2 separate regions of the Homo sapiens genome follow, and region 2 is linked to region 1. Evidence: promoter capture Hi-C in human tissues and cell types (Jung and others, 2019). All regions are on one chromosome and are shown on one strand. The core of a region is centred on a gene start or on the middle of the fragment in contact, and the rest is flanking DNA. Distances in the headings are between cores, read along the strand shown. Region 1 holds the start of SNX15 (sorting nexin 15). Region 2 overlaps EHD1 (EH domain containing 1).

The links. The method cuts DNA at HindIII sites, captures the fragments that hold promoters and counts their contacts. A contact is called where the count stands out against the background at its distance.
Region 2: a contact is called between a fragment that was not itself captured here and the fragment with the promoter of SNX15 in region 1, in 1 of the 25 tissues and cell types used here (aorta).

The regions. Positions count from the first base shown.
Region 1 is chr11:65,026,035-65,028,872 of GRCh38, forward strand. It overlaps SNX15 (sorting nexin 15), which reads left to right and starts at 1,405. Exons shown (of 8, transcript NM_013306.5): 1 at 1,405-1,602. The coding sequence starts at 1,504. ARL2-SNX15 (ARL2-SNX15 readthrough (NMD candidate)) reads left to right here. Exons shown (of 11, transcript NR_037650.2): 4 at 1,284-1,602. It also overlaps the pseudogene EEF1A1P18. RefSeq lists an enhancer at 1,223-1,517 and a silencer at 1,367-1,536. The HindIII fragment of the contact is 29,710 bases long and covers 1-2,838 here.
Region 2 is chr11:64,864,031-64,867,061 of GRCh38, forward strand. The region is part of intron 2 of EHD1 (EH domain containing 1); the gene reads right to left. Among named protein-coding and RNA genes, the nearest start is that of MIR10392, 13 kb to the right of the region's middle. RefSeq lists enhancers at 1-178, 1,792-2,091. The HindIII fragment of the contact is 8,078 bases long and covers 1-3,031 here.

The DNA of each region.
Region 1 (2,838 bases), core at 155-2,654:
ACCTCTGCCTCCCAAACTGCTGGGATTACAGGCGTGAGCCACCACGCCCGGCCCCCATCTCTCCTCTTTAGGGTGGCTCATTGGGATCCATTTTGTTAACACCAACAATTAGTTTCACACCCAGCGTGTAAGACAGAAGGGTGTGCTCACGCGTCTGCCCATTCTTGGAATTACCAGCTTCAAATTCATCAACACCAGCAGCAACAATCAGGACAGCACAATTAGCCTGAGGTCAGGTTTTTGATAAAGTCTCTGCATCCTGGGCCATTGAGGATGGTCACATAGTACTTGCTGGTCTCAATTGCCAGCAGGGAGGTATCAGTGGTGATACCACTCTCACGTTCAACTTTCAGCTTACCCAAGACCCAGGTATGCTTGAAGGAGCCCTTTCCCATCTCAGCAGCTTCCTCAAAATTGTCGATGGTTCTTTTGTGGATCCCACCACACTTGTAGATCAGATGGCCAGTAGTGCTGGACTTGCCCAAATCAGATGATGATGTTGAGCTGAGTCTTTTCCCTCCCCTGCTCCCTTTCTTTTGAGATGGAGTCTCACTCTGTTGCCCAGGCTGGAGTGCAGTGGTGTGATTGCAGCTCACTGCAGCCTCAACCTCCTGGGCTGAAGCCATCAGCCAGCTCAGCCCCTGGAGTAGCTGGAATTACAGGCGTGCGCCACCACGCCCAGCTAATTTTTGTATTTTTAGTAGAAACGGGGTTTCACCATGTTGGCCAGGCTGGTCTTGAACTCCTGACCTCAAGTGATCCACCTGCCTCCACTGCCCAAAATGCTGGGATTACAGGCGTGAACCACCGCGCCAAACCCCCATTTTGGCTTTGATTTAACGGTGGTTTTCACGACACCTGTGTTCTGGCAGCAAACCCATCGCAAAAAAGCTCCACTGCCCTACACAGATTCTATTATAAACATCTCCATTCTACAGATGAGAAACTGAGGCTGAGTAGTTAAGGGAAACTCCTACAGCTAGTAAGAGTCGTGACTCAGAGCCCATGACACCATCCTGCTTCTCCAACCTTCTTTGCTTCCTCTACTTTCCAGAAAACATGAATTAGGGAATCCTGTGGAGGGAGACAGGGAAATAATTTGACGTTGTCCTGTACATACTGGACACAATAAGAGTTGGGTGGATGAACGAAAGCAGGGATTTAGGAAGCGGGGAGAAGTCGTTTGGAAGTCTGTGACAAGGGTTTACGCTTGGATAGGGTGGGCTTGATCACCCGGCAGAAATGAGACGAGTGATCCCAGCCTTCCCAACCAATCTTTCCAGTGACCTGGGTTTACGCTTCACCACAGAGAAGGAACTTTTCAGACGCTCCCTTGGCCGCGCACCCGGGATCGGAACAGCGCTGTCACTTGCGACAAAATCCCTAGGCCAGAGGAAGAAGAGCGCAGGCCTGGCGAGGCGGCGGCGGGCGGAGGCTGGGCCGGAGGGGTGGGGACGGCGAGGAGGTGGAGGCCGGCGCTCCGCTCCGCTCCAGCTCGGTTTCATGTCCCGCCAGGCGAAGGATGACTTCCTGCGGCACTACACAGTGTCGGACCCCAGGACTCACCCCAAGGGCTACACCGAGTACAAAGTAACCGCGCAGGTGAGGTGGGGCCCAGCGCGTACTTTACCCTTTTAACTAGAGGGGCGCCGAGTTTTACCTTAAGGAAAGGCGGTGCAGCCACTGCTCCCTTTTTAGACGACAGAAATGGGTTTCCCCTTTAAGGGGAGGTTGCAGTACGAGGCTTAGTTTACATCTTTAACCACCAGGGGGCGGGGTCCTGGGTGGGCGCTGTCTTTTTTAAAAGGGCGTTGACGGCCGTTCCCGGACAGGCAAGGCGTGTATGCCCACGCCCGGAGTGTAGTGTCTGGGCATCAGGCTGTGAATTTCTCTAAATTAACATGAAAACTCTGGTTTAATCCAAATATTAGTACTCCATTCTCGTAGAGTAAGTTTTGTTTATTGGTTTGTTTGATGTTACATAAACTCCCTTTAACGAGTTTAACCATTTTTAATTTTTCAAAAAATAATACTGATCAGTGGTTGAAAAAAATTGATGCAGTTCAGAAGGACTTAAGGAGTAAGTCGCCATATCAAGGTCACAGCAGGAAGATAGATAGGCTAGAGTTGATATATGAAGCGATAACAACATCATAAGCACAATTTATAGAGAGACATGGAGGAAACCATGACAATAATTAAAAATGAAACAGTAAAACAGGACACCTGTAGAATGATAACAAGAACTGGTAACAAGGAAGGTCCCCAGGGAGAGGAACTGTGTCACTGGGGACAGGAGTTAGGGGAAGACTTTTTACTGTAAATTTTTTGTACTTTTAGAATTTTCAACCAGGCGACTATTAAGCTGGTGCATTAGTTAACTCTAAAAGCAAAGCAGGCACATAAGGACACTTCCAAAGTGATCTAAGTGCAGAATCTTAGCTATTTAAAATATGCTTTCCCCAAACCGTTTACGTCTTTTCCATGCCTAAAAATAATGCAAATAAGGCCGGGCTCAGTGGCTCATGCCTGTAAATCCCAGCACTTTGGGAGGCTGAGGCAGCAGATTGCTTGAGCTCAGGAGCTCAAGACGAGCCTGGGCAACATAGTGAGACCCCGGATCAATATTAAAATACAGACACACACACAACTTTAAAAAAAAAAAAAAAAAAAGCAAATAAATAGATTGTCCCTGGGAAGATAGACTGGAGGTGGGGCTGGGGTGGGGAGGATGTGGCAAGGAACTGTAACCTTTTATTATAAGTCTTCCCAGTGGTGGCCGGGCGCGGTGGCTCACGCCTGTAATCCCAGCACTTTGGGAGGCCGAGGCGGGCGGAT
Region 2 (3,031 bases), core at 356-2,855, 160 kb before region 1:
GTCACCAAAATGTAAGGAAAATCCCAAATCCACAGCTTCAGCCACACAGCCTCGGCAGCCTCTCCACAGGTGATGTGCGGCCGTTCCCTGCCCCAGCTCAACAGGAAATAGGGCACTCTGACCAGAAGCAGCCCCGAGGGCCAAGCTTCTTAACAGGGTAGCAGTGCAGGGGAGCCGGGGTCCTGGCCTCCAGCCTGGACGGGGAGGCCCGATCAGCCTTCCAGAGGCTCAGGTGGATGGTCGGAGACAGCAGAGCTGCCAGGTTCCCTGTGCCCAGAAGGTGTGGAAGGGCATCGTGCCAGGGCACCTCATGCCACCACAGGCTCCTGCTTCCAAAGTACAAGGCCCCGGGCACCCGGACTCCCTGCAGCTGGCTCTGAGCTCCACAGGAGAGGATGCCCAAAGAGTGAAGTCTCGGCAGAAAACCAGAAAGAGAGGCCAAGGGCAACATGAGGGAAACAGGGGCAGGGAGAGGCCGCCTCTGCCCCCGGGGGATGAGGCCACACTAGCTAAGCCTGCAGCGCCTGCCTGGGGCCCGCAGCCCACAGCCTTTTATGGCCAGCTCTGGGAACGCAGGTCAGTACTGAAAAGGCGATGACTCAAGGACTGAGGTTCCTCGCTCAGCAAAAAGGGGGCCCAGCTTCTCCCCTTGTCAAATCATTTGTCTTCAGCCCGCCACAAGCTGAAACTAGAATTCACACAGCTGGGGAGGCTGTGATGCCAAAACCGAGTTCTTGGGAATGAGGGCGCCCTGATGGGCTGTGCTCAGCCCATGTTAGCTTTGGCCTGGGAGTCAGGACGGCGCCTGGGGAGCTGAGGTCACCCTCCCAAACTCCACCCAGCAAGGCCCCACTCCCCCCTCCCCCTGGATGGCTGGGGGGCCCTGGGGAAAGAGAGAAAAAGGAGGGGAAGGAAGAAAGAAGAGTGAGCACTCCAAAACTCCCTGCCCCAGGTCCAGAAGCCCTGCCCCACCTGCTCTGAAACCCAGTTACTGGCCGTCATCTCAAGCTGGAGTCAACAGAGGTAAGCCCATTTCTTTGCAGGTGACTAAAATTTCCTGTTTATTACAGAAAATGTGCTTTTGCTGTGAGGGAAACACAGTGACTGGCCAGCCACACCCACAGGTGACAAAAAGGGCCACAGCACTCAGGCCTGTGCCATGCAGGCAGTGACCACGTAACTGCACGCCCCACCAGGCCCACCGGCGCTCCTTAGCCCACCAGGCCCTCGCTGCCCTCAAAGGCACCTCACTCAGCCTAAAAGACGCCGGGTTTCAAGAGGTGCCAAAGGCTACACTGCACAGCGGTAACACTGAGCCACTCTCTAGATCAGAGCTGGACGGCCGGTATCAAGTACAGAACAGGGCTTGCCAGCACCCCCGGCACTGCCCAAGGCAACAAGACTTCAGGCTTTGGCACCCACCAAGGTAGGGGCCTTGCTGTTAGCTTGACTAGCTCAGGCCCCAGTGGGAGTGACAGAACTGATGCCGAGCAAAAGGACACAGAAAACATGGCCCAAGCGGGTGGGCTGGAGAGAAAGGCCCACCTGCAGAGGGAGTGGTTTTAGTGAGTAAAAGCCAGAGCCCCCTCTGATAAGGGATCATAAGCCACCAGGAAGCTCTAGCTCAGAAAATCCTGGGACCTAGAAGACATGATGCTAAGTGATGAAATAAGTCTGTGACCTTTTCCAAAGATGACACACACGCGGCCAACGAGCATATGAAAAAACTCTCAGCATCACTAATCATTAGAGAAATGCAAATCAAACCACAATGAGACAACATCTCATAACAGTCAGAATGGCTATTATTAAAAAGTCTAAAAATAACAGATGCTGGTGAGGTTGCAGAGAAAAGGGAACATTTATACGCTGCTGGTGGGAATGTAAACCAGTTCAGCCACTGTGAAAAGCAGCTTGGCAATTTCTCAAAGAATTTAAAACAGAACTACCATTCGACTCAGCAATCACATTACTGGGCATAAACCCTAAGGAAGAGAAATCATTCTGCCATAAGGACACATGCACACATACGTCCATTGCAGCACTATTCACGATAGCAAAGATGGAATCCACCTAAATACCCATCAACAGTAGACTGGATAAAGAAAACATGGTACATATACCACAGAGAATACTATCCACCCATAAAAAGGAACAAGATCATGACCTTTGCAGCAACATGGATGGAGCTGGAGACCATTATCCTCAGCAAACTAACACTAGAATAGAAAACCAAATACCGCATGTTCCACACCAAATACCGCATGTTCTCACTCATCCATGGGTGTGAAACATTGAGTACACATGGCAACAAAGAAGAGAACAACAGACACCAGGGCCTACTTGAGGGTGGAATGGGTGAGGACAGAAAAACTGCCTAGCAGGCTGGGCATGGTGGCTCACGCTTGTAATCGCAGCACTCTGGGAGGCTGAGGCAGGAGGACTGCTTGAGTCCAGCCTGGGTAACATAGCGAGACCCCCCTCTACAAAAATTTAAAAAAATTTGGGTGTGGTGGCATGCATCTGTATTCCCAGCTACTTGGGACACTGAGGTAAGAGGATTGTTTGGGCCCGGGAGGTGGAGGCTACAGTGAGCTGTGATTGTGCCACTGCACTCCCAGCCTGGGTGACAGAGTGAGACCCTGTCTCCAAAAAAAAAAAAAGAAAAGAAAAACTACCTATCAGATACTACGCTTATTACCTGGGTGATGAAATAATCTATACACCAAACCCCACCACACTCCATTTACCTGTATAACAAACCTGTACATGTACTCCTGAACCTAAAAGTTTTTTTAAAACATCCTGCCACAAAAGGACAGATACGGCACTGTAGGATTCCACTGACAGGAGATACCAGGAGTAATCAAGTGCACAGAAAAGGAATATAGAATGGGGAGTGCAGGGGCTGCGGGGTGCAGGGAGCCACGAGGGGAGCTGGTGTTGAACAGGAAGAGTGTCCATTTGGGAAGTGAAGAGCTCTGGAGCTGGATGGTGGTGACGGCTGAACAATGAAGAATGTGCTAAATGC